7 separate regions of the Homo sapiens genome follow, and regions 1, 2, 3, 4, 5 and 6 are each linked to region 7. The links are contacts of gene promoters, found by promoter capture Hi-C in blood cells and fetal thymus (Javierre and others, 2016). All regions are on one chromosome and are shown on one strand. The core of a region is centred on a gene start or on the middle of the fragment in contact, and the rest is flanking DNA. Distances in the headings are between cores, read along the strand shown.

What was found. Contacts are between HindIII fragments. The CHiCAGO score rates a contact against its expected background, and 5 or more counts as called.
Region 1: a contact is called between a fragment that was not itself captured here and the fragment with the promoter of SNHG5 in region 7, in 2 of 17 cell types (neutrophils and monocytes). The highest score is 14.8, in neutrophils.
Region 2: a contact is called between the fragment with the promoter of TTK here and the fragment with the promoter of SNHG5 in region 7, in 3 of 17 cell types (total CD4 T cells, fetal thymus and total B cells). The highest score is 10.0, in total CD4 T cells.
Region 3: a fragment that was not itself captured here is called in contact with the fragment with the promoter of SNHG5 in region 7 in 1 of 17 cell types (monocytes); the score reaches 6.9 in monocytes.
Region 4: a contact is called between a fragment that was not itself captured here and the fragment with the promoter of SNHG5 in region 7, in 3 of 17 cell types (monocytes, neutrophils and total CD4 T cells). The highest score is 15.7, in monocytes.
Region 5: a contact is called between the fragment with the promoter of PHIP here and the fragment with the promoter of SNHG5 in region 7, in 8 of 17 cell types (total B cells, activated CD4 T cells, neutrophils and 5 more). The highest score is 12.5, in total B cells.
Region 6: a fragment that was not itself captured here is called in contact with the fragment with the promoter of SNHG5 in region 7 in 1 of 17 cell types (activated CD4 T cells); the score reaches 5.6 in activated CD4 T cells.

What each region holds. Positions count from the first base shown.
Region 1 is chr6:79,058,564-79,062,204 of GRCh38, reverse strand. It overlaps PHIP (PHIP subunit of CUL4-Ring ligase complex), which reads left to right. Exons shown (of 40, transcript NM_017934.7): 5 at 1,387-1,537; 6 at 1,629-1,727. The region is part of intron 1 of LOC124901346 (a long non-coding RNA gene); the gene reads right to left. Among named protein-coding and RNA genes, the nearest start is that of PHIP, 18 kb to the left of the region's middle. The HindIII fragment of the contact is 5,266 bases long and covers 1-3,641 here.
Region 2 is chr6:80,002,333-80,006,215 of GRCh38, reverse strand. TTK (TTK protein kinase) reads right to left here and starts at 1,567. Exons shown (of 22, transcript NM_003318.5): 1 at 1,503-1,567; 2 at 234-374. The coding sequence starts at 372. RefSeq lists enhancers at 1,966-2,085, 1,656-2,530. The HindIII fragment of the contact is 2,460 bases long and covers 265-2,724 here.
Region 3 is chr6:79,220,091-79,223,798 of GRCh38, reverse strand. The region is part of intron 1 of HMGN3 (high mobility group nucleosomal binding domain 3); the gene reads left to right. Among named protein-coding and RNA genes, the nearest start is that of HMGN3-AS1, 12 kb to the left of the region's middle. The HindIII fragment of the contact is 7,289 bases long and covers 1-3,708 here.
Region 4 is chr6:79,022,897-79,026,609 of GRCh38, reverse strand. It overlaps PHIP (PHIP subunit of CUL4-Ring ligase complex), which reads left to right. Exons shown (of 40, transcript NM_017934.7): 8 at 446-667; 9 at 991-1,091. The region is part of intron 1 of LOC124901346 (a long non-coding RNA gene); the gene reads right to left. Among named protein-coding and RNA genes, the nearest start is that of PHIP, 54 kb to the left of the region's middle. The HindIII fragment of the contact is 2,814 bases long and covers 52-2,865 here.
Region 5 is chr6:79,075,961-79,079,714 of GRCh38, reverse strand. PHIP (PHIP subunit of CUL4-Ring ligase complex) reads left to right here and starts at 1,461. Exons shown (of 40, transcript NM_017934.7): 1 at 1,461-1,686; 2 at 1,802-1,860; 3 at 1,986-2,015; 4 at 2,208-2,267. The coding sequence starts at 1,647. LOC124901346 (a long non-coding RNA gene) reads right to left here. Exons shown (of 2, transcript XR_007059652.1): 2 at 2,449-3,754. RefSeq lists an enhancer at 1,034-1,083 and silencers at 1,204-1,443, 1,574-1,743, 2,243-2,742. The HindIII fragment of the contact is 4,735 bases long and covers 536-3,754 here.
Region 6 is chr6:79,039,788-79,043,956 of GRCh38, reverse strand. It overlaps PHIP (PHIP subunit of CUL4-Ring ligase complex), which reads left to right. Exons shown (of 40, transcript NM_017934.7): 7 at 954-1,114. All of the region lies in intron 1 of LOC124901346 (a long non-coding RNA gene), which reads right to left. Among named protein-coding and RNA genes, the nearest start is that of PHIP, 36 kb to the left of the region's middle. The HindIII fragment of the contact is 888 bases long and covers 843-1,730 here.
Region 7 is chr6:85,677,214-85,680,916 of GRCh38, reverse strand. SNHG5 (small nucleolar RNA host gene 5) reads left to right here and starts at 2,184. Exons shown (of 6, transcript NR_003038.2): 1 at 2,184-2,223; 2 at 2,729-2,781; 3 at 2,885-2,963; 4 at 3,042-3,122; 5 at 3,425-3,493. It overlaps SNORD50B (small nucleolar RNA, C/D box 50B), which reads left to right and starts at 3,258; the gene lies at 3,258-3,328. It overlaps SNORD50A (small nucleolar RNA, C/D box 50A), which reads left to right and starts at 3,549; the gene lies at 3,549-3,623. RefSeq lists enhancers at 2,214-2,373, 2,544-2,603. The HindIII fragment of the contact is 13,479 bases long and covers 1-2,341 here.

The DNA of each region.
Region 1 (3,641 bases), core at 1,123-3,622, 6.6 Mb after region 7:
TCAATGTCAGTGTGCTTTTTGACTGCAAAACAAGGAGGTAATATGTATAATTCATATGATACAAACTGTATTAGAACTCCTTTTTCCAAAAATACTCATTTTACTGGCTTATCACCTACTGTATGCCAAACTGCTGTTTTAAATAATCTTACCAAAGATTATTTGGTGGCAGTATGGCTCCATGTTATCTTTGTGAAAGAAGGAGTGTATTTTGATAAAGAGTAAGGTAGGTTTCTCCTATTGGCTTCAGTTTAGATGGGTATTAGCTACCTTTAAAAACATATCATTCATGGATTTCTGCAGTTAAGAGTATAGCAGATATTGCAAGATGGAATGAGATGATTTAAATCCTCACCTCCCCCCACATCAGTCTTATCAAAAGGAATTCATGTTAAAGTTGCCATTACTTGGTAAACTTGAGGAACAATTTTCAAATTTCTTGGTCTTAGGACCCCTTTACACTTACTAAAATGTATTGAAGTTCCTTTATTTGTGTAGCTTATAATCTATTGGTATTTACCATATTAGAAACTTAGCATTTAACATATTGGAGACCTATTAAATAATACTAATAAACTAATCTTATTTTAATATAAGTAACATTTTTATAATAATTATTCCCAAACAAAACAAATTTGTGAGAAGCGTGGCATTGTTTTACATTTCTGTGAATCTTTAATATCTGGCTTAATAGAGGAGACATTTTCCTATCTGCTTCTGCATTCAGTCTGTTAAGACATCACATGTTATGTGTCCTGTGGAAACCTCCACCGTGCATTCATGAGAAAAAGTGAAAAACAACTAATATAGTGTTATTCATAAGTTTTATCTGAGGGACCTCCAGGGGTTCCCAAAACATACTTTGAGAATAGCTGAACTAGATACTACTGTGGAAATTTTTTTCTAACTTGATAGCTAATTATGAAGTAATACAATAGTATTTTTTTCCAATATAATTTTATTTAGATAGTGAATATTGTTTATTTACTGAAAGACTAATAAAAATATTAGCATTTCATGTCATGGTTTCAAATGCCGGTATAAATTAAGCAGTATTTTGAAGTTGTTCCAAAAGTGCTCAAACTTTTTATAGTGGGTAGCTTTATTTTATGATTGAAAGATATTTAAAGCAGCAGTTGGAATTTTGCCTTTCTCTCTGTAAGGTTTTTGGTAAATTATGAAATTCAGCATAGATGTTAAGTGTTCTTAAATTTTTTAATAACAAACTATCAGTTCTTAATTCTTAATTATTCTGGAGATTTACTTTACATCAAAGACGCAAAACAAAATATTTTATACTTGGATGAATTTTTTTATTGTTGCTCAAAGATTTTGAAAATTAAAATGATAAACTGAAACCTACTATATTTGTCTTTTACATAATAGGTGAAGTATTACAGACACTTAGCACCTGATCACTTGCTGCAAATATGTCATCGACTAGGACCTCTTCTTGAACAAGAAATTCCTCAAAGTGTTCCTGGAGTACAAACTTTATTAGGAGCTGGAAGACAGTCTTTACTACGCACAAATAAAAGTATGAAAATTTTCTCATAGGATTTAGACATTATTTATCTCACTTTTGTTTTTGTGTTCTTTGTATGCATAAAAATACATGTGTTTAATAGGCTGCAAGCATGTTGTGTGGAAAGGATCTGCTCTGGCTGCGTTGCACTGTGGAAGACCACCTGAGTCACCAGTTAACTATGGTAGCCCACCCAGCATTGGTGAGTTGTTTGAGTTCACTAGTAGTTAATAGCCTCTTGGTAAAGAGCTTTTGAAAATGAAAAGGTTTTTTAGTTACTGTGGTATTAGAGAACTTCATATTATGTACATCTGCATTCAAAAAGAAAAAAATAGATTTTTTTTCTTAGTAGTAGTTTTAATAGTGAAAAAGTCATGTATAATGAGGGATTGTGCACATTGCACCTTATGTAGGCCAATTAGCTCATTGGAATTTTATTTTTACGAAAGTTCCATATTAAGGTATATATTATTAGGTCGAGTTAGTAGAATCAATATATAATTCAGATTAGTTATAATGGTAGGAGACAAAAGTAGTTATCTTTTTAAGAGCACAGTACTTTTTTTTTTTTTTCTTTTTTTGGCTAAAGTTTCAAAGAGGGAGTACTGATGCAAGTATGTCTTCTTGAGATGCCTCCTAGGTTCATGCCTTTCACATCTGCTACTACCAGGCCCTTGCCTTACCCGGATTAATACAGCATCATCCAAACTAATCTTCTTGCCTATGGTGTCTTCTATCTCTCTCTCCCTCCCAGTATAGTGTGTAACACTGTAATAGTAACCTTATTCAGTTCTACCTTTGTTGTGTCACTCTTCTGCTGAAGATAGTATAAAGAGGTTAAGATATTTTAATAGTGTTGTACTTTCTCTAAGTGTACTCCTAATTTTCAGAGACCTTCAAAGTTCAATCATAGCTTCTTTTCCACTCTCATGTTCCTGCCTAGCCAGGAATGTTACTCTTCTTTCTTCCACCTGTTCAAATCTTACTTAATTCTTCCTTTTCTGGATACTTATTATACAGATCGTAAGTTTATATGACTTTTGTTTGGCATTTTTATATATATATATATATATATATATATATATATAATTTTGCTTTCAACTTTTTGTTTCCTTTTATTTCTTGTCTTTTAAAAATATAAAAGTGGCTTTTAAAAATACAATATGATAATCTGTGTTTTATCTGGAACATTTAGTCATTTACATATAATCATTGATGTACTTGGGTTTAAATCTACTATCTAACTTGCTACTTTGAAGGCAATCCCTTTTTCTCTAATTGTTTTTAAGATTTTTTCTCTTTCTGGTTTTCTGCAGTTTGAGTATGATATGTCTTGATGTTAATTTTTTAAAAATTTGTCTTGCTTAGATTCTGGAAATGTCTTTTATTGACATTGAAAAATTCTCAGTCATTATCTTAAAATAACCTCTGTGTTCCTTTCTCTCTCCTTTCCTATGGGACTTAAACACTTTATCTGCTTCGTTATCCTTTCTTCTATGTTTTACATGTTTTTGACTCTCTGATGTATTCTGAATTGTTTGCTCTGACTTACTTTTCAGAGATAACGTATGTGATATCTGCGTGGTGGGTAATCATCTATGATTTTTTTTAAAACATAAGATTGTCCTGTTTAAATAATTTCAATATATAATCTTGCTATAATAAACAACCATTAAAACAACAAAAAAATTTGAGAGACGAGGGTATATTTGTACTTAGAAAAGTATTCTAAGGTGGTATAATAGGATTCCTGCAAGAAGGGAAAGATAAAATATTATAGGAGTTTTCCCATTTAGGAAAAGTTTATCCTGTCTTTGAAAAACTATAGATCCACATAATAAGGAGAACACGTTATGCTTGTTCTTTCAGTACATTGTCAGTCAGGCCTGTGGTAGGTAATGAAAGTGTAAGAATGATTGATGGTAAATAACATTTGCTTTGTGAGTAATTCCTGTATGCCAGACACTGTTCTAAGCATTTTCTATTTATTTACTCTTTTAAAACCTTAAATGTTCTATAGGTAGGAACTATTATGCTTATTTTACAGAGGAGACTGAAGCATGGAAAGATTTTGGTAACTTGACCAAGTTCACACATGCAGTGAGAAGTGAAGCCA
Region 2 (3,883 bases), core at 318-2,817, 5.7 Mb after region 7:
CATTAATCATTGTTCAATAAATGTTTAAGTGCCTACCTACCATGTGCCAGACACCATTCAAAGTTCTGTGGATATAACAGACAAAAACCCTGCCATCATGTAGCCTGCATTCTAATGGAGGAGAAAGACAATAAACACATGAGTAAATTATAAATAAAGTGATTAGTACTATATCTTTACCTTAGAGGATACCCAACAAACAGTTACTAACTTAAAAGAAAAGAAAAACTCACCTGTAGTATCAGCAGAAATTTTATTCAAGCTTAGTTCATCAGTAAGGTCTTCATTTTTAAACTTATTTTTAATGTCTCTCACTTTGTTCATTATGGAATCAATTGTCAATTCTCTGCCACTTAAATCCTCGGATTCCATTTCTAAGAAAAAAACTGAACAGTCATAACTCCTACTTTAACTAGCATCAAAGAAAAAAATGCACTAGCTTTTTAGAACCCAGACGACTAAAGCATTCGTTTTGTGAACACATCTAAATGCAGCTATTATTAGGCTAGTATTAATGGAGGTAAGTGCACAACAACAAGGTACACATCTTTGTAATTTATTCACCAAGGTTTCATAGGCCAAGTATACTTTTTCCCCCAATATAACATCAATGACGTCACACTGTAGAAATCTGCAAATTTAGTGTCACTTAAAAAAAATATGATAGAGTGTTTGCTTGGATTTTGGTAGCGACATACACATAAAGATTGCTTGGATTCTGGTAGTGACATAGACATAAAGAATTCGTTTGGCAATGGGAATAACAATTCCTTTATTCGCCTGCTTTACTTGAGTAAATCTTCCAGTGCAAGTGCTTTCAAAGCAGAATATAAACATGATGGGGCTTTACTGATAATTAGGAAATCCGCAGATTTATTCTTGTGCATATCTAGCAGAATCACGATTTGCTACCTTAATCTAACACTAAGAAACTATTGTACTGGTACTGAGCACTTGCTTATCTGCATGGTGGTGGTGTTTGTTCAATAAAGTGTCTGCAGTCTTATTGTTAATCGTATCTTTGTGACTCTCAAACACCAACTCAGTGTCACTGATAACAATGCTGCCCCGTCTTCAGGTTTAACAATGAAAAAAAGTCATAAAGTTGCAGCAAGGTATCACTCCACCTCTTAAGTCAGGTTTGAAAGATAACTGTCAGATCACGGCCACCCGCTTCTTTCCCAGTTCTAACCCCCAAAACAAGAGAGACTGTCCTTTGGAAAACGATCTTGTGCGCAGGTACCCCACCACCCCTTCTTTCCAGCGTGGGCCACACCCACTTCTTACTTCCTCAACAAAACCTCCTGCATCACCCCACCGGCCAGACCCGCTGAGGCAGTGAGACATCCCCTCCCCCTCCAGCTCGTTTAGCCGCGTCGCATACCTGGCTCCGAGCTGCCCCCACCTCGCCCCACCCCTCACCGACCAGCGCTAACAATGAGCCCCTACACCGGCTGCGGCTGTTCCTCAGTGCGCCGGTGCACCGGTAAGACAGAACTTACCTACAGAAAGCTGCGCTGGGGAAATGAAAAGATGGAACCCAAACTCCTTTCCGCAAACACGTTTGAATTTCCCCGTCGCTATCACTACGGTCTCCTATTGGTCAATGCTAGCCACGTAGAAGCGACAGTCGTGATTGGTTCTTGTGCGACGGGGGCCGCCCCTCCTCCTGCGTCAGGCTAGGCCCGCCCCGGAAGAGCCTGCGGCCGCGACCCCACCCGTGCGGCGCCTGGGTTGGTAGGGTGCTGGCACTTTGCAGGCGTTCCCCGGACGCCCGTGGGCGGGCTTTCCTGGTCTTTCCAGTTTAACCAGGCCGAATTTTTGCCTGGGAGGTAGCCACTCCCGAGCAAACCTACCCAGTGAGAGGAATATAGGGGCAGGGACGGCTGCTCCTAGCATCAGGACCTAAAAGATGCACCTTGGGCCGGCCCTTTACTGACCCCACCGCCACCCTTCTCCTTCGTTTCCCGCGGTTCTCACAGCCTGGCTTAGAGAGGATGTGGCAAGAAAGGATCTTTCACTGAGCTACGTTCAGCCCTGCCGCCAGCTCAAGAATTTCAGTGCTTTTTATCCTTGAGCTTCTGCTTATGCCCTTCCATTATCCTTAAATGACTCCACGCTCTGTCTTCAAGCCAAGACCCTCCCCCTTGTCAAAATTCTGCGCAGAACTCAAGCGCCCATCGTGATTGCCCTGTCTGAAGTCGCCTTATCGGCCCCCCTCCCTCGAAGCCTGCCCCACTTAAGGGCTCAGGTGTCCTCAGGGGTAAAAACATCTCCCTAGTAATAATCTTCGCGGGTGCGAGGCTCTGCCGCTAAGTGGCTTTGTGGTCCAGGGCAACGGTTACTCCTCGTCTGCAAAACTAAAAGGGATGTGTCTGTTGTGCCAGCATTATGACATATATTCTGTGGTAGGACGGGTTGGTTTTGTGTATGTATAGGAAACTAACTGCAGCTGTCACTTGTTAACTCCAAAGCTATCCTTAGAACCCTCACATTCCCAGCTCTGGATAGCCACCCAGCTAGCGTGAGAGCCCTTCTCAATCACTTAATGCATCTTTCTGTGTCAGCTAGCTAGTATTTCTGCTTCAGCAGAGCAAAATGACTTGCTATACCATGGTTGGCTAATCACTTACCTTTGCACCATTGCATCTAATGCTTCTGCCTGGAAAGAGTTTATTATTCCTCCAATTCTCGTTGATCTGTTTGCGGCCTGATCACAAAGCTTGCATTTTCCTTAAAATACTGTTGCTGGATGACCTCACCCTAACACTTCTTTCTGTACTCTCGTTTGGTGGTCTCCTTCAGTCTTCTATTTTTAAATACCATCTATATGTTGATGGCTCCCAAATGTGTATCATTAGCTGAGCTCTCCTCAACTCCATACTCAGATATCCACTGCCTACTTATTAACATCTTCACTTACATGTCTCATACGCATCTTGAACTCAAAATGTCCAAAACCAAGCCCCTGATCTTCCTACCCAAACCTGTTTTTTTTACAAAATCTATAAAAGACAAATTCATTGTCTTAAATTTTTTAGCCCCAAAACCTTTGTGTCATCCCTGATCCCTTATCTAACTCATAAGCAGATTGAGTCAGGGCTGGCACAAGAGATTCCTGGACTCCTACCAGTTCTCCCCACCTCCACTGCCACCACTTCAGTCCAAGGCATCTGCATCACTTAACTGATGTTACCTGCAGTAGCCTCCTGGCTGGTCTCCCTGCTTCTGCCCTTGCCTCACCTCAATTTATTCTCTGACATAGCAAAGTCATCTTAAATCAGATTATGTCACTACTTTGCTCAAAACCCTTCAGTGCTCCCTTTCTAGCTCGGAATAAAATCAAAAGTCCTTGTGATGGTCTGTGACTATTGAGCACTTGAGTATGTCTAGTGCAACTGGGAACTGAATTTTTAAATCAATTAACCTTAATTGATTAATTAAATTTATATTTAAATTTGAAAACTGATATCTAATGGGATTATTTTTAAACTATTTAAAGTAATTTTTTTTGCTTTCTTTTTTCTAAACTTGCATTAGTCATGAATTTATTGGAAGACTTTTAAGTATACTTGGAACAATGTAAGTATATGAACCTACTTTTTCAACTGTAAATTTTGTGAGAACCAAATGCAGATGAAGTATTTCCAGTGAAAGTGTCTGAGTATGAAATGTGATGTACTGTTAAGTATAAAATACACTCTGGATTTTGAAGACTGAATAAGAAAAAGTAATAAACATTGATAATTTTAAAAATATCAATTACAGGTTAAAATGATATTTTTGCTATATTGAGTTAAATAAAATATATTATTAAAATTAATACCACCCCATCACAGAGGAGACTAAGAAGACATGACAACTAAATGCACTGTGATATCAT
Region 3 (3,708 bases), core at 1,118-3,617, 6.5 Mb after region 7:
CCACGTGCTTTCTGCATGGCCATGTTTGTACAAAACCACAGCACATAAAAAAAAAAAAAGGTAACTCTAGTGAAAGGGACAGCTCAGACCAAAGAGGTTTAAAATATTTAAACTTCTTTCTTTTTTTGAGACAAGACAGGCTAGAGTGCAGTGCAGCCTCCACCTCCCAGGGTCAAGCGATTCCCACACTTCAGCCTCCCAAGTATCTGGGATTACAGGCATGTGCCACCATGCCCAGCTAATTGTTTTTTGTGGGTGTTTGTTTGTGTGTGTGTTTGTTTGTTTGTTGAGATAGAGTCTCGCTCTGTCACCCAGGCTGGAATGCAGTGGCGCGATCTCGGCTCACTGCAACCTCTGCCTCCCAGGTTCAAGCAATTCTCCTGCCTCAGTCTCCTGAGTAGCTAGGACTACAGGCATATGCCACCCGGCCCAGCTAATTTTTTGTATATTTAGTAGAGATGGGGTTTCACCGTGTCAGCCAGGATGATCTCCATCTCCCGACCTCATGATCCGCCTGCCTCGACCTCCCAAAGTGCTAAGATTATAGGCCTGAGCCACTGTACCTAGCCTTGTGTGTATTTTTAGTAGAGACGGATTTTGCCATGTTGGCCAGGCTGGTCTCGAACTCCTGGCCTCAAGTGATCTGCCCTCCTCAGCCTCCCAAAGTGCTGCGATTACAGATGTGAGCCACTGTGCCTGGCCTATATTTCCTTAATATTAAATATAAACCCTAATTATTGAATTGTGTGTATTTACACTAATAAAGTTTCACTGAACATACTGGCACACAACTTTCTTTATTTTTAGTTATCTTTTATATCTGATTGCAAGAGAAATATTTTCCCTGCAAAGTGGTCCTCAGAAAAGAGAGAGTTGCTATTTATTTCAGTTCAAAGTCTTCTAAAGAAGCGTTCTTAATTACTACTTTTATCTTGAACAATAAAATAACATTTACAAAAGACATAGTAGCCTGCAGTGACCTTAATCAATGTAATTTGAGTTTATAGAAGTCACCTGTTGGAATTGATAAGCCAAGCAGGGGAGGATATGGAAAATAAATTTAACGTAAGTTTGATTATTAATCCCATGAAGGGACCTCTCAATTCCAAGTATTGGATATTTAAAGATTACTTTAAAAGCAATGTAGTAATAGAGGATCCCAGACATACACCTACAGGATCAATGAAAAACAACCAAGCCATTGTTAAACATCGCTTGGTGGCTTTGAGTAAAACTTCCAGTGTCTGTTTAATGTGTCATAGAAGTATTTGAATTTAAGGAGACTACCTTTTAACTCAAGAAACCTTATAAGAATTTCATGGACAGTGCCCTCATTTGTGGAGAGAATTAACCTTGTGTTAAGTAGTTATGTGTTCATTTTAGCTGAAGAGCGACAGAGTTAGGTATAGGCACATTTCAGACCTTCTCGTGGTGTGTTATTTGAATTTTTTGGTGCCATAGTGGTTTTCTTTTTAACCAATTTAATACTGGACTGCTTTTTTCCCCAGCCTTGAGTTTGTAACTGAAAAAAAACAATAAAAGTAATAATTTTAAAACATTGGCCAGCAAATTAGAAAAAGATTATCTCAATGTAATACACTCCCTAGGTTAAAAGAAATGATTGTTGGTCTCTTTGCACTGTTATATATACCATCAGCTTTTCCTCGTTAGCATGGATAACCTAGGAGTTGAGATTGGATTTATTCTGGGGCTGCTGGCAAATGGTTATTTGAGTTTCATAATTACTGTAGGCCTTCAGCTAATTCGCTGAAGTCGTAAAACAATAGCCTTTGTCACTTAAACTCTTAGAAGTAAAACTCTAAGTAACTAAGAGCCTATGTGTACCAATGAATTTGTACTACATGTACCAATACATGTACCAATACATGTACCAATGAATTGGTACTACATGTACCAATGAAGGTTTTTTGGAAGTTTAACATAAGAAAGGTCCAACACTGTGCTGAAAATCCTGAGCCCTCCTCTTTCTTGTCTTCCATGGGCTGAAGATCACTCCTAGTGCAGTAGCGTTAAACTTCTCTGCCTCCTGCCTCTCCCTCAGTGTCCTTCTCCACACTAACAAAGCCACAGACTGCTGCCATCTAAAGCCGTTCCTAAGCAGCTGTTGAAAGGGTGTAAGGATTTTCTTACACTCTTCTGATACCTTCTTGAGTTTGGAGGGAGAAAATTGGGCTCATCACCCCACAGTGCCTGTTTATGTTGTGGTAAGCACTGTTTACATGAAAGAAGGTCAGCAAACCTTGTTGATTCTTCATGGATGGCCTATGGAATAAAAATTCCAAGTTTCTTCCCTTGGTTTCTGATAGGGACTGCTGGAAAGACTTAAGGAAAATACAGTTCTGATCCCTTCAGTACATTTGAGTGTTCTGCACATGCAGGACCCAGGCATCTTTGTGTAAAGAAAGAATGGGGATGGCACAGTTGGTCAGCTGTTGAAGGAATCCACACTCCCTCTGCCCATCTCGACTCCCACACTCCTTCAAGAGTTCTGAGTCCAGTGCCTTCATTATCAGTACAAATGAAGCAGTTATATTACATGTCTTGTACAGAAGAGGAGGCAATATAAACCAGATTGATACGATATTGAAGAAATAGAAAAAATGCTGTGAGTAAACCTAGTTATGTAATTTGTATTAGGGAGTAGATATGGTACTGTTTTTAATAGAGTAGGTTTGCTTTTAGTCTTTTTCTTCTCCCCAGTATGGATAATATTTTTATTTAGAAAAAAACATAAATACAGAGAAATCCAGGAAATAATATAATATACCTATTTACCCACCACTGAGAATTCACAAATTGGAGTCTTTTAAAAATCATTGTTCATTTCAGGCCTTTTTAGAAAATAAATTATTAAAGTTCAGTTTCCTTTGAAACATCCCCTTGGTTCCTTTTTCCTTATCATCCCCCCTAAAGATAACCATCATCACGAATTTGTTGTGTATTCTTCCAGTTCTTGCTTTTATACCTTTATGACACATCCATCCATCCATCCATAATATTGATTTGTGCATGTTCTAAAATTTGTATAAGTGGTGGGGCGTGGTGGCTCACACCTGTAATCTCAACACTTTGGGAGGCCAAAGTGGGTGGATCACCTGAGGTCAGGAGTTTGAGACCAGCCTGACCAACATGATGAAACCCCATCTCTACTAAAAATACAAAAATTAGCCAGGTGTGGTGGCACGCACCTGTAATCCCAGCTACTCTGGAGGCTGAGGCAGGAGAATCGCTTGAACCCAGGAGGTGGAGGTTGAAGTGAGCCGAGATCGCGCCATTGCACTCCAGCCTGGGTGACAGAGTGAGACTTCGTCTCAAAAAAACAAAAAAGGCAATTTGTAGAAGTGTAGTCCTGTACATGTATTACTCTGTTTCTTCCCTCTGTCACTTGTCATTATAATGGAAGGGTATACTATGTCTAGGTATATTGTGATTGCTGATTTATTTGGACTTTTTATGTTTTCTATTCTTTGTTTTCCTTTGTTTTTTACTTTCCTGCTTTTTATTGGTAAATATGTTTTATTCCACCCCTCCTGATTTGGAAGTTTATAGATCCTATTTCTGTTCTTACATTTTTTAATGGTAACTTTAAATTTTATTTTAACAAAGTCTAAAATTAATCTGTATCTGTATCATCCTCCAGAACAAAACCAGGACCATAGTATCCTTTAACTTCTTATCTACCGACCC
Region 4 (3,713 bases), core at 209-2,708, 6.7 Mb after region 7:
TCAGTGATAGGAAACTCACAGCTTCCTGAGAGAAAAAGCCCCAAACAAGCTTACTTTTAGTTTTGTATTACAAAACAAAATAGATAATATTAGTCACCATTGTAGCTTGCATTTGTTTTGCAGCTATGATTTTTTTTTTTTTATTTCAGAAGTTCAATTTCTTTTACAGAAATCCACATTGAGGGTACTTTGATAGTAGATAGGGAACCAAAGGTAAATATTAATTATCTTATCCCACTTGTCTTATTTGCTGGTGAGTACACAAGTGCTCTTTTTAAGTGGTTTAATAAAGAGCTTTGTGTAAGCTAACACAAGTATTTAACACTTTTTGGTATTTAAAAATATACTTGTTCAGAAGTGGACAGAACAGGTAGATTTATCAGTGTTAAGATTTTGAATTAAAATTTATGGGGTTAATTCTATTAATATCCATTCTTACTTTAAGGGTTCTGATGACTGTCTTGTGAAAATATGGGCAACAGATGATGGGAGGTTGTTAGCTACCTTAAGAGGACATGCTGCTGAAATATCAGACATGGCTGTAAACTATGAGAATACCATGATAGCAGCTGGAAGTTGTGATAAAATGATCCGAGTCTGGTGTCTTCGAACCTGTGCACCTTTGGCTGTTCTTCAGGGCCATAGTGCATCTATTACATCACTACAGGTAATTGTCTTAATCCCTATACATTGTTGTTGTTGTTGTTGTTATAATGTAAAGTAAATTTAATGAAGTCACTTTTGGTTATTAAATTTTAAGAAGTTACTTTTATAATCACCTTTATAATCCAGTATATAAGGCCAACTAAAATGAAGACAGGAGTATGTCTGCTTTCTTTATAAATATATGGACTTTAAATAACATAACCTTGGTAAATTCTTGCCATTTTCTAACTGTTGTTGTTAGTTGCTATTTGTATGGCAAAAAGTAGATTTTATTTTGACTGTGTCACTCTTGTAAAGATTTTTTTTCTGTGATTGTCTTTTCAGTTCTCACCATTGTGCAGTGGCTCAAAGAGATATCTATCTTCTACTGGGGCAGATGGCACTATTTGTTTTTGGCTCTGGGATGCTGGAACCCTTAAAATAAAGTCAGTTTCTATTTTATTTCATAGATTAAATGTGTTTAGTTTAATGAGTGAAATTGCAAAAGTATAAAGTAGTCGACAATAGGAATACATTTACTTTTTCTCCTTGAGTAAATAATAGAAATCCTCTTTTGGCTCTTTACTAACCTGTTTTATTTTTATTCCTCCCCTTTTTTTATGTTTCAAAGAAAGTTTCTCATGTTCACATTTTTTTTCTCTTTATCCTAATCCTAGCTCTTTCCTTCAGCATTTACCTGTTTTATTACCACTCCTTTCTATGTGCTGCATAGTTTTAATAGCTGCTTTTGATGCTCAGAACTTAATCTTAAGAATTTCTAATGCTGTTCTTTAGAATAATTTTAATTATTGATGCTACTGAATCTATAAACTTTAGATTTTATTTTAGATCTAGGAAAATGTAGGGAGACAGAATCATTGAAGTTTCACTAAACTGCATCAAGGTAGATAGATGTATTCCCCTCCCTCCCCATAATAACATTTTGCATTTGTGCGGTCGCCCATATTAATACTTCGGTTTATCAAAACAAGTTGGCTGGATAGTATTATCTTTGGATTAAGGGCACTGAAATGGTTAAATGACTTTCCCATAGTTAAAACTATGTTTAAAAATTGGCAAGGCCAGGACTAGAGCACTTCTCTGCCCTTTGATGCTTTCTATACCATATCTTTTATTTATTTATTTATTTATTTATTTTTGAGACGGAGTCTCACTGTGTCGCCCAGGCTGGATTGCAGTGTCGCGATCTCAGCTCACTGCAAGCTCTGCCTCCCGGGTTCACACCATTCTCCTGCCTCAGCCTCCCGAGTAGCTGGGACTACAGGCGCCCGCCACCACTCCCGTATAAGTTTTTTGTATTTTTAGTAGAGACAGGGTTTCACCGTGTTAGCCAGGATGGTCTCCATCTCCTGACCTCGTGATCCGCCCACCTCGGCCTCCCAAAGTGTTGGGATTACAGGCATGAGCCACCGTGCCCAGCCTCTATACCATATCTTTTAAGTGGATGTAGTGGGGAGAGGAAATAGTGTATTTGCTCCATGGATAGTCTTTGAACAAGAAAGTAGTGTATTCAATTGATTATTCAGTTGATTTCACAGTGTTGAAATGGCCATTTCTGCCACTCGGGGTGGAAAGTCATTCAGATTAGAAGGTATATATCAGTAATTATCTCTGACTGCTATGTATAAATTAGCAACCCAAGTTGAGTTATTTAATAAAATAATATATGTATGCCTTTGTTATTTTAAAAACAGTAGTGTTTAGATAATTGTTTGTAATGCAACACATGCTTCTTTAACTTCATGTATATGAACATTCTTGTAGAGTGGTTCTTATGGCAGCTTGGGGGCCATGGTAGCTCGAGTAACAAAACTACTTCATTTGAAAAAAGATTGTGATTTAAAACATGGTTCTTTGGACAAAGCAAGTTGACTTCACTTCAGTTGCATCCCTCGTATTTAAAGTCTTTCTGTAGATAGATAAAAGTTGAAATATTTTACTGATGTATATGGACAGTAGCAATAGTTAATTGTTAATTGTTGCTACTGTTTTTTAACCTCCTCATGGACCTGATGGGGATACCTTTCTCTTTTCCTGTCTTATTGTTTTAGAGAAGAAAAAGTGATTAGCAATGTTCAAATTGGGATAGGAACAGAAAATGTTTTACAGAATTAAACTCACACCTTATTTGTGCTTCTTGAGGATTTTATTGCTAAGTACAATAACATTTCATGTTTCTGGATGCTTGAGAAGTAAGCTTGTCCATATAAATGATTTTTTCAGAACCTTTATGTAGAATCACATATAAACCACTACCCTAATACAGTATTTTTTCTCCATGAATGTTTTTATATAGATATAATTAGGAATATATATATAATTTTGTTTTCTTAATATTTTACCATAGATATTTATATGTATTTTAATAGCTTGCATTATGTTCAATAGAGTTGTTATATACAACTTAGTAATTTTTTTATTTTTGGACTTCAAAGTTTTTTCTAGGTATTTATAAGTAATATTCTTTCCTATTCCTATATTCTTTCCTATTCTTGTCCCTTAAAATTTTTAAATTCAGAGTTCAGGCATAAGAATGAGTACTCTGGCTGGGCACAGTGGCTCATTCTTATCTAATCCCAGGACTTTGGGAGGTCAAGGAAGGAGGATCACTTGAGTTCAGAACTTTGAGACCAGCCTAAGTAACAGAGCAAGATCTTGTCTCTACAGAAATTCAAACAAACAAACAACAACAACAACAAACGCCAGACATGGTGGTACACACTTATAGTCCCAGCTACTCAGGGGTCTGAGGTGAGAGGCTTGCTTGAGCCCAGGAGTTAAAGGCTGAAGTGAGCTGTGATCTCACCACTGTACTGTAGCCTCTGCGACAGGGCCAAGATCCTGTCTTATTAAAAACACAAAAACAAGAACAATCCATTGCTCTTTAGATATAAGCCTTGGAACACCTATTTTCTTTATGTGTTTACACATAGTTGAAAACTGCCAAAAATTTGGCAGGATATAGATTTATACTGTTTATGTCACATAGGATTTAATTAATAATCAAAGGCAAAAATTGTATTTAGCTATAATGCTTTTGTATATTC
Region 5 (3,754 bases), core at 212-2,711, 6.6 Mb after region 7:
CAATCCTTAAAAAATATTGAACTCTCAAGTCTTTTTGGAAAGTGCTTAAATCATCTGGAGATAAATATCATTTGGTGTCCTTGTTTTCTAACAAATGGCTTTTTCTATTGTTTCCATTAATTTCACCCATATTCGTTTTTTTAAAAACAAGGCCCTTATCCTCATCAGCAAAACACAGATGTATGATTTAGCATATAAAATCGGTAATTACATACTAATTTACGAAAGATTTTTTTTTCTCCTTTTCGTCAGTTTTCAAGAAGTCTTCCCGTGATTAACTGTAAACAGGAATGGTTTACATCTCAAATTAGAAGCCATTAATTAGCATGACGAAGTCAACTGCAAGATACACAGATTATTTAAATTATTTAATCACTATTCACCTTGGCTAAACTGTAGTATACTCTTTCAATATCCTTAGGCAGGTTATCGATCTGTCACTAAATTACCTCCAGATCAGTTAGACATGAATATTAGCGTCCTTTCCTTTCCCTCAGGTTTACATTCTCCCTTCTCGTAAACACTTAAAAAAGCTTTAAGGTTCTTTAATTCCAAATACCTAATTAGCCATCACTAGCCTTTTTGTAATAAGGAAAAAGAGTATCTGAAGTACAAATCAAGAGTTCGCTTTGCCCGTTTAACAATAAAAAACATTTAAAAAACGTACGCCAAAGGCAATGGCAGTAATAAAAGAAATATGCAGAGGTGGCTTCAGCAAATAACGGGTTTGCAAAACGCAAGTGCTTAACAAAAAGCAGCCCAAACCTCTATTGCAATATACAGCACTCCAATAAATTACACAACACTTGCATAGGCTGCAGAAATAACGCAGGACAAGACTTACACAGATGCCAATCCGCAGCATTTATACACATGCACATGGCAAGAGACAGAAACCAAACACTATCATTCAACTCGGGAAGGGTAGCGCGATCCCGAGCTTGCCCAGCGTGAGAGTGCTCTCTGCGTGTGTGTCTGTGTACGCGCGTGAGTGAGACCCATCCTTGGGGCATTTCCCCTCTCTGGGCAGTTTTGCTTCATTTGTTTCATATTTCTGCTACATAGAAACTAACTTCCATCTCAGCTCCAGCCAGCGCCGCTGAATAGAGCCTGTGCTGCGGCTCCGTGTGCGTCAGATCCCTCCGCGGAACCGTCCCCGGCCCCCTCCCTGCCACTATCGGCCTCCACAGAGAAAGCGCCTTCCAGCCAACCGGCGGCTTGGGCTCCGACATCTTCTCCGACTGGAAATAAATAAATAAATCGCACGCCCTGCGGGGAGGAGCGGGTGGGGGTCTCACTGTGCCGCGTGCGGAGCGCTGGGGACGAGGGGTCGGAGGCACTCCTTTTTTAGCGCCGGGGGGCGGGGGCGCGGGCCAGAGCCGGGGCCGAGCCCTGGGCCGCGAAGGCGGCGGACTCCTTTCTGCGGCGGAGGGATCCGCGGCGGAGGCGGCCACGGCCGTAGTCGCTGCCTGAGAGTTGTTGTTTCCTCCTCCTCCTCCTCCGCCTCCGCCGCCGTTGCTTGAATGGTGGAGCCGAAGCTCGGCTCGTGAACACACACTGACAGCTATAGGGCAGGCGGCGGCACCGTCCCCGCTTCCCCTCGGCGGCGGGGTGTCCCGTCGGCGGCCCTGAAGTGACCCATAAACATGTCTTGTGAGAGGAAAGGCCTCTCGGAGCTGCGATCGGGTAAGTCGGGGGGCTGCCGGGGCCGCTGGCACCGGGCGATTCCGCCCGCGGTCCCCCGCCCCCCGCCGCCCGACCGCTCAGCCTGTGTGTCTCCCCGTCCCTCTCTCCCGCGCAGAGCTCTACTTCCTCATCGCCCGGTTCCTGGAAGATGGACCCTGTCAGCAGGCGGCTCAGGTACGGCGGCGCGCGGCGCGGGCCGGGCCGGCGCTCGCCGCTCGCGGGCGTGGGGGAGGGAGGCGGCGGCGGCGGGGCCGCGGCCCGGGGCGCGGGGCTCAGCTCTCCCCGCTTTGTTGTTGCAGGTGCTGATCCGCGAGGTGGCCGAGAAGGAGGTAAGGGCGGCGGCGGCCCGGCGCGTCCCGCCGCCGCGCGGCCGCCTCTGGGCCGCTGCGCCGCCGCTGCCGCCGCCGGCAGGGCGCGGGGCGCGGGGCTCGGGGTCCCCGCCGGGGCGCGGGGCGGGCGGGGGAGGGGAGCGGGCGGGTAGGGGCCGGGGGCCGGGCTCACGGGGTGTCCTCTCCCCGCAGCTGCTGCCCCGGCGCACCGACTGGACCGGGAAGGAGCATCCCAGGACCTACCAGAATCTGGTGAGACATTCACGTCGCAGAGCAAAGAAACTTTTCCCTGAGTCGAATAAAAATTGAATTTCCCGCAATTTTTTACAGAGACAAAAACTTGGCCCTAGAACGTGAAAGCTCCAAAGGCCATGGGGAGGGTTGGGAGGCCGGCGCGGGGTCTGCGGGGGCCAGTGGCCGGGGGTACTCGTACTTCGGGGCCGCAGGGGCTGCGGACAATTTATTTGTGATATTTTGTTAATGTGCTAGAAATAAAGATACGTCATGAGTGTTGTGCAGTGCAAGGCCGGAGGAGGAGGGGCCGGCGCGCGCGTCCGTGCGGGCGCGGGGGCGCGCGAGAGTCGGCGGCGGCGGGAGCGGCGCGAAGAGGGAGAGCGCGCTCGCTCGTTCGCTTGCTCGCTCTGCACGCGCGGCCGGCTCGGCTTTCTCCTGCCCTACACAATAGCTGGTGACTAACTGCTCCGAAGTGGCATTAGCATTTCACAAGCAGGCTATCCAGCCGCTGCGGTACCGTGGCAAGACATTATTTTTTCCCCCTCTGTCGTTTATTTTGTTTTCCTTAAATTCAGTCCTGGGTTTTTTGTTGGAAGGATTCTGATGTGTGATGATAGTTGGTCAGTGCTTCGTCTTGCATTTACTAAAACACATCTTTGCAGAAGTGTAAAGCCTGTAATTCCCTAAAACCAGAAGTTTAGTAGGCTTTTTTTAATTCTTATGGTATGCCTCTCGTTTAATTAAAAATTATTATTGGAGTACACTGAAGAGTTTTGATTTTTGTCCACATATTTACTGTGGGATGGAACTTGGCCTATGAAAGTTGTGTTTATATTGGGACATATTTTGTTTAATAGCTTAAAAACCTTAATTTTGTGGGTTGTCAAAATGAGTATTTTAGGAATCTTTAAAAATTGCTTTTCAGAAGTGGATTTATCACTTCAGTATTGTGATTGGAAGTTACTTTAAAGGAGCTATATTTTCTGTAACACTTTCTCCTAAACTGATACAGGTTCGTTGTGTGAATATGTGTGTGGGGCAGTTAAAGCAGTCGCACCGGACCCACCAAGCCTTTGAAATTTATGTAGTGTGTTGATTTTATGAGGCTTTTGTAACTGTTTTGAGATAGTTATGATTACTAATGTTACTTCATCAGAACTTCTCTAATGACTAGGAAGTTTCAGCGAGCTTAGAATGAGTGTCTTTTGTGAGGTGAAAGCAGGACATGATTATAATGGCGCTTTTTTTGGTATGTAGTGTATTTCCTAACTTTTGTGTATAAATCTCTTGTGGTTTAATATAAGATGTTGATAACCGCTCAAGGCTGTTGAAATAAGCAAGGGTACTGAGGTTTAATACATCTAATGGAGATTTAACAGTGTATTAGTGTATTCATTTTCACACTGAACGTGTGTTAATTTTCAAGGAGTGATTTGGGTTACTTTCATTCAATTCTTGGCCAAAGTGAATGGAGCTGGAAGTAAACTCCAAGATTTACTAATTTG
Region 6 (4,169 bases), core at 37-2,536, 6.6 Mb after region 7:
CTCTGTACCTTGGCTAAGTAGTATTTTGTATATATATTTAGTTTTCTTTAGGGCTAAATTCGACCGAGAAACCCTAGTGCTAATTACCCAATGTAGATGGCAGTCACTGTTAGAAAAAAAAAAAAAAGCCTGTATTAGAAGATCATCTGTAGGTTAATAATGTGCCTGCAGATCAGTCAACATATATTTATTGAGCACCTTCTTTGTCCATAAGTTACCAGTATAGAAAATAAGTACAGTAGTAATTTAGATGGAAGAGGACATTTTCAGCTGGAGTCAATGTATCAAGCTTTGGGACAGAAGATAAACTTCAGTCAGATCTTGAATAATGATTAGAATGAATGAGTTGAAAGGGAGAACTAAGGGAGAGCTAATAGATTCCAGAGAAGGAATCATTATACAGGTGTTTGGCAAGATTCCCAGTTTAATTATTATTTTTTAATAATGCAAATGACGTATTCCTTTATCTTCACTTGTTATAAAGATGTTTTTAAATATCATTCTGCATGTCAGATTTCGAGTGTTCAAGTGTTACTGATTTATGAAAAGTACACTGGGTTCCAGTTTTAAGTGCCTTTGTAAGAAAAACTATTTCATAGACAGCTTTTAAGGAAATAACATATAAATGCTTTAGGTTTTTAAAGAGCACTAGCCAGAGAGTAAATAAATCTGAGCTTTAATCCTAGCTTCATGCCTTACTTTGTGATTTTTGGACAGGTCATTTAACTTACAAATTAAGTTATAAAGTGAGAATGATAGTGCCTGACTTATTTCAGGTGAAACAATGTTTTTATTCATTACTTTAAAGACTTTTAACTAGAAGCCATATATATCAGAAAGCTTCTTTATTTTTACCTGCACATGACAAATTGGAGTATGTGAATTCTTAAAAGGTGATCATGTAAGAAAATTAATTTCCAGATTACATTTATTTTCCTTCTTTTTCTTGGTAGCGGATACTCTGTTTTCAAGGAAGCTGAATGGGAAATACAGACTTGAGCGACTTGTTCCAACTGCAGTGTATCAGCACATGAAAATGCATAAACGAATTCTTGGACACTTGTCATCTGTGTACTGTGTAACTTTTGATCGAACTGGCAGACGGATATTTACTGTAAGTAATTGCTAAAGTATTATTTATATTCATATATGTAATTGAGGAAATATTGCTTATAGGTGAACTTGAAGTAAAACCTTGCTTTTTTTTCTTTTAATAGGAAACCGGAAATTCAGGTGGTTTCACTTACTCTAACAGAAGAGTTTAGTTAAATTTGGACTTTATCCAAATTCAGAAAGTTTCTAAATGACATGTTGCAGCACAGTCACAGTTATTATATGGTTGTACATCATGAATAAGTATGGTTCTCAACATATATCAAATACACAGTTTGACATTTTGCAAAATGGCATAAAATAATTTTAATTTTGAACTAAGGACATCTAAGTATGTTGAGAGATTATTAAATGTGCCTTTTTATAATTGTATGAGATTATTGAATATACCTTTTTATATTATCTGTAGAAAATCACTTGCTTGTCTATGAGAAATTTCCCTTAAAATAGTGATTTTAAAAAAGCTAAAAAATTCTGAGCATATCTAATACTCTTATTACCTGTTATTCTTAACAGTTCATTCTTCAAAATATCTGATGTTTTGTTTATAGAGCCTCTTTGGGTTTGTTTATTTGTTATTGTTTCTTGTAACCTGTTGAATAGAGAAAAGCAAAGCTTTTGAGCTTTATTTTAAGTGAGAAAATTACTTTTGGAAATATTTGATTTTCAGGTGCCTTAACATCTACATTCATTAAGCATAATACTACACTATTATGATGATATTTATTATTAAACACTACCCTGTGGGCTGAAGGTATGCATTCATTCACAAGGTTTTTAATTTCTTTTGAAATAAGAAAATTTGAAGTGGAAGTTAAATGGAAATTTTCCTGTCTTTGAAGAGAGCAGCTGTGAATTTTACGTAGTTATGACAATTATAGATTCCTCTTTTTAGTAAATTTGCTTGTAAACTGAGACCTATTTATACCTACTACTTCTCCTCTATCCATACACCCAGTCATCTGTAAAACAGCTAAATAGCAGGATGTAGGAATGCATTTTTATACTTTTCTTTTCCCTTGGCTCTAATCTACCTCAGGCATTTGCACATCACTTCTTATATCAGTATTTTCCCTTTTTACGTTCTCTTGTATCAAGTATTATTTTCAGAGTGGAAAATAGGCATCTCTATATTTGCTGAAGTGCCTGACATACCTACAGTAGTAATTTGCTCTCAAATAGTAATCGAAAATTAATTTAGCCATTCAAGTTTAATATGGGTATATTCAAATTCACCTCTCAAAAACCTTAAGTAAATTTGATTTTTCTAATGTTTGAAAGAATTCTTTCAAAAACAGTAATAAATTAAAATAATGAAAAAGGAGCACTATATTGTGCCAGTAGGTCAGTATAAAGTTATGCCATTGTAAAGAACCTTGTAGGAATTCTTTCTTTAAAAATGATAGGGATTGTAAGCATTTGTTTATCATATTTTATGAAGCATTTTACATGTTTTGATATTAATTAGACATATAATCTCCTGGAATTTTTTTAGGGAGAATGCAGTGAAATAGTGTGCTTTTTGCTATCTCATGAGTGTGGTAGGTACAGACTTGGAAGAGCTTTTTGAACCAGGGTTCAGCATGCTGCTGCCTGCGTCTCAAACCCAGTTTGTCACTTGTTCTTATAAATGCAATTTTATTGAAACACAGGCATGTTCAGTTGTTTATATATTGTCTATGGTTGCCTGTGCACTACAACAGCAGAGTTGAGTAGTTTTGACTGAGAACATATGGCCTGCAAAGCCTAAAATATTTATCCAGCTCTGTACAGAAAAAAATTGCTATCCTTTTCTAGACATTTGATTCTTTCTTTTAAGGGCATGTGATTTAGAGAACAAGAATAATATGCGAAGAGGAAGCTGCTTGTTGGTTATTTCTTTAGTTGAAAGCACATCAATTAAGAGAAGAAAAGTAGCACTGTACTATTTTATATGGTCTTACCAAAGTCTAAAGATGTTTATTTTTTAAGAATGTGATAGAATTTGTTTTGCTAAATTCAGTCTCATTTGTAATTTTTTACTGGTGGTTTGGAGTTACAGATTTCAGAATGTTACCTTACAATAAGAAATAACGAAGATATGAGGGCACTATTTTTTTGAAAAATTCTTGTATTTTTATTATTTTCACTTCAAGTGGTGGTAGGGTACACATATGTTCACTATTCATATTGCTCATTAATAAAGTGGGTGCTGAGTGTTTTTTGCATTTCACTAGGCACAGACTAGACGCTAACTAGTCCTATGGAAATCAGTCTTGAAAATAGATAGAATCAGCCTTTAAGATAGTAGATCATGATTGACCAGTGAAACACTCCTGTGAGAGAACATACTGTTATTATTTTTGGAGGTAACAATTTGGTAATGGATCAACCAGTATTTCCTTTTTATATAATTGGTATTTTAAGACCTTGCAGATTTATTTCTAAGATATTTGTGTATATATATTTGAAAGCTTTTTCCAAGGGATTCTCTTGAGTCCTTTCTGAACAGGCACAGCTGGAGGCATACAGTACTGTGGTTAAAAGCATCAGCTTTGACATCAGAGGGCTTTTAGTCACAGCTTTACCACTTCTACTAGTGAAACTTTGACAGATTACCTCATCTCTTTAATCTCCAGTTTTCTCATCACCTAAAGAGAGAGGGGAGTAGATGATAATAGTACCAACCACATAGGATTTTTGTGGGATTACATGAAATAATGCATATAATTAGTACTGAACAAAATAGAAAGCAGTCATTAGGTTTTTCCTACTGCTACTTATAGATTTAAGTAAATTTTATCTTTTATTTTTTATCCAAATAAAATCTTATTTATAAATGGTATACAAGAATTAAAAAGGAAATCATTGTAATTGATAATGAAATTCTGTATTAGGAAAATGTATCATTATTTTGTATGACAGTATTTTAAGAATGGGTGCTTTCCCAATTATTTTAATGAGAAAAACCCAAGGAGGGAAATAGCATAATTGCCAAGTCAGATTTTGTTCACTAATTCTCTTTTAGCCTTTTAATGTTTTTTACTTGGTTTTAAAATCATTTCCTTAAGTGACAT
Region 7 (3,703 bases), core at 935-3,434:
GTGTGTAGCTTGCATTTGTGGTTCATATTATATTCCAATTGGACAGTATTGCCTCTAATGCTTGTTTAAAATGTGGATTTTTGGGTCCCACTTTTGAACATTATGCTTTCAAGGTTCCAGGTTCGGGCCCAGAAATTTGATATTTTTTAACTTACCAGATTTTAACTGGTAAGTCAGGGTAAGGAATCACTGTTTTATATGGCTTTTGACCAGGTGATGTTTGTGGTCTTCAGAATGGCAGAAACTCTATCTCTACGAAAAATACAGAAAAATTACAGGGCGTGATGGCGCGTGCTTGTAGTCCCACATGGTTGGTGGGCTGAGGCAGAAGGATCACTTGATCCCGAGATTGCAGTGAACAGAGATAGAGCCACTGCACTCCAGCCTGGGTCACAAAGTGAGACCTTGTCTGGAAAAAAAAAGTCATCTATATGTACTGATATGGAAAGATGTTTATGATATTTACAAGACGGACAAACAAGTTGCAGAACATATAGATCCCATTTGTATGTGAAAAACGAAGTACATATATTTGCATTTGCATAGGAAGTCTCAAAAACTGTTAACAGTGGTATTGCTGAAGAGTACAACTAGGGAGAAGATTCCCAGGCATGTGGAAAGATACTTTCACTTTGCTTTTTTTGTTAACTCTTTTTAAAAATTTTTTTAATACAATAGAGACAGGGTCTTGGGCTCAATCCTCCCACCTCAGCCTCCAAAAGTGCTCTAATTACAGACATAAGCCACCACACCCGGCCTACTTTGCTTCTTATATCCTTTTGTACTGTATTGTTTGTTTTACTATTTACTATGAGCAATATGCAAATTTATGTAAGACATTACAAAGTAATACAAAAACCGACAAAATGCCCGGCCCAGTCAATACTTCATCATATAGGTTCCTGTTAGAGAAAAGTGCTTTTCACTACTATCTTTGAATGTGAAGTTTGATCTTCATTCTAATTTTCTAAAAAGCCACCGAATGTATTTGTTCATTCATTCATTCATTTAACCATTACCGACAACCTACTTAATGCTAGGCACTGTTCTAAGAAAAAATAAACAGCAGAGCACGAAATCAGATGTGTTGCTCCCACACTCTAGCAGAATCGGACCGTAATCAAATGCACACATAAACAACTTTAATAAGTAGTGCTTTGAAATATAGAAGTGAAGAACGACCTGAATTTTCAAATACTGAAATGTTCAAATGTCGTGTGCACACACACACACGCAGACATATTCACTCGAACATGCTAATTAATCAAAGCACTGCTTTTGAATTTTGTGTTTGTCGTCTGGATAAAGTATTCAGGGATACTTCTCAAATTAATCTTTCTCTCGTTTTCAATATAACTAATTGAGTACAAAGAAGTTAAAAATTAGCAAAGCATTTCAGCTGTGTGACCTTAGGCAAATTACCTGGCTGTTTTAAGCCTCAGTTTTCTCCTCTGCGAAATGGAGTATTGAACCTCACGTTCGCTGTTTGAGGGAGACTTGTATGGTCACGTTTAGTGTAACCGGATGCCTGGCACGAGGAAGCGTGAGGAGGAATGGATCCCCATGGGGCCTTGATGCCCGCCCTGAGGCCCTGCAGGGCCGCACGCCGGGGCTGTTCTCACGTGGCGCTTTCCGCTTTTTCACCCAAGCGTTTCTGCCAGCCAACTGCCCTTTCCCGGAGTGCTGCGGCCAGGGCTCGCCCGCTCCTCCGGCGGCCTCCGCTGGGGGCCCACTACAGCCCAGCGCCAGCCAGCCAGCCAGCCCAGCTTCTCGAATCGGTCCTAAGCTGAGGCCGCCCTGCGCTGCAAAACTTGTGTCCACTCTCGGACCCAATCTGTCCTGGACGGACTTGGCTCGTGGCAGGCGAAAGCGTCGTTTCCAACTGCAGCTGTTTGAATTCTGGCGCCACACCCGCGCCACGTAGGGCCAAGTCGGCCGCCAGACTCGTAAGAGACGCTTCGCAGTGCGCCTGCGGGCGCGCGCCGGGAAATGGCCGGGCGCGCGGCCGGCCTGCGGCGCGCTCCACAACGCGGAACGGGCCTCAGAAGAGCCACCGCGCGCGCTCCCGCTAATTCGCGACCACACCCCTGTCTACTTCCATGTCCAATAGGTGCGAGAGGGCGGGACGGCCTCGTTCTGACTCCGGGAGGCTATATAAGGAGCTACTGGCTGCGCACTTCGGTCTTTTACGTCGGCCTTCGCGAGCGTCTGGGCGGGTGGTAGGTGAGTGGGTATTGCGGGCTAGTATCCGAGCAAAAGATGGTGGCGCAGGCCGAGTTAAGAGCTTTAATCCTGTGAAGACATCTTAGTGAAGAGTTTAGAGTGCTGAGAGTTGAAAGCTTGCACGTGGGAAACGTGCGGCCGGACTGCCACATGTACTGAGGTTGAGTCGTGACGGCCACAGGCTCCGAGTTTTGGCGTGAGGAACCGCTGATCGGCCACGGGCGCCGAACTTGCTGGCCTCCGGCATGTGCCTGAGCGGCGGCGGAAAAACCACCTTAATTGGGGCGGAGGGTTAGTTTTAACAGCAAAGGGCCTTTACTAAAATGGCGAAGGCCTTCCGTCGGCGTTGTTTTAAAATGGGAAGCCTCGACCCTGTATTGAAACTGAGCTGTTCGAAGGCGGCGTTGTGTGCAATTCGGATTAATGAAGGGGAAGGGTTTTGTGTGGAAAAACGCCTTGGAGTGTGACATTTCTGCGAGAATGCTTAAATACCGATTTCCCGCAGGAACAATGGCGCTGTCTTCAGTGGCACAGTGGAGCAGCTCTGAAGATGCAAAGGTAAGAGCTTAGTTAAGCTTAGTTTCCAAACTAAAGGAGTAAACCTGTTGATTTACAGGAATAGGAACTGTTGCATCGTTTGAAATTTACTTTTTTTTGTTAGATACACGAAAAAACTTCCAGAACATCTGGGAGAATATTTAATGGAAAATCGCTTGGTTAAAACCTGACACTTTTAACAGGTATGTGTTGTTTTAGTACTTTATGATTGAGCATAGCATTTAATCCACACCTAGACTAAATCAAATTTTTTTTGTCAGTGAACAGCGTTCTGAGTGTGGACGAGTAGCCAGTGAAGATAATGAATGTCGAATGTGACTGACTAGCAGCTTCATTTTGAAGTAGGTTGTATGGCTTAAAAGTTCTGTAGTATTTGTACTATAATACTTGCCTTTTAGCATTACCTTGGTTTGTAGTCAGTGTCACAGAAGTGCAGTTTAATGTATTATGTGTACATATACAAGGTCTGATTGGTCTAATCAATGATGAAACCTATCCCGAAGCTGATAACCTGAAGAAAAATAAGTACGGATTCGGCTTCTGAGATTAAGACCAGTAATTCAGAGGTGGAGTAAATTTTGTTGCCGTGATTTTATAACAGTTGTGTTATAAAATCCTGGGTTTTTTTTTTTTCTGCCAACAGTGAGGGTCGCTGTCTGCCCATTGATAGAGGCCAGATTGTCTTGGAAGTTCCAAAGTTGCAACGATTTCTGTAAGTGGAGTTTTTCTGTTTGCTTAGAGATCAGTGAATATTGTGTCCTTGGTCTTATCTGTGATGATCTTATCCCGAACCTGAACTTCTGTTGAAAAAAAAAAACTTTTACGGATCTGGCTTCTGAGATGGACCGTTATAAGGACAATATTTTTTTTTAATACTTTTAATGCTTTTACATATGTTGTAATGTTTGTAGTCTTGTAAGAA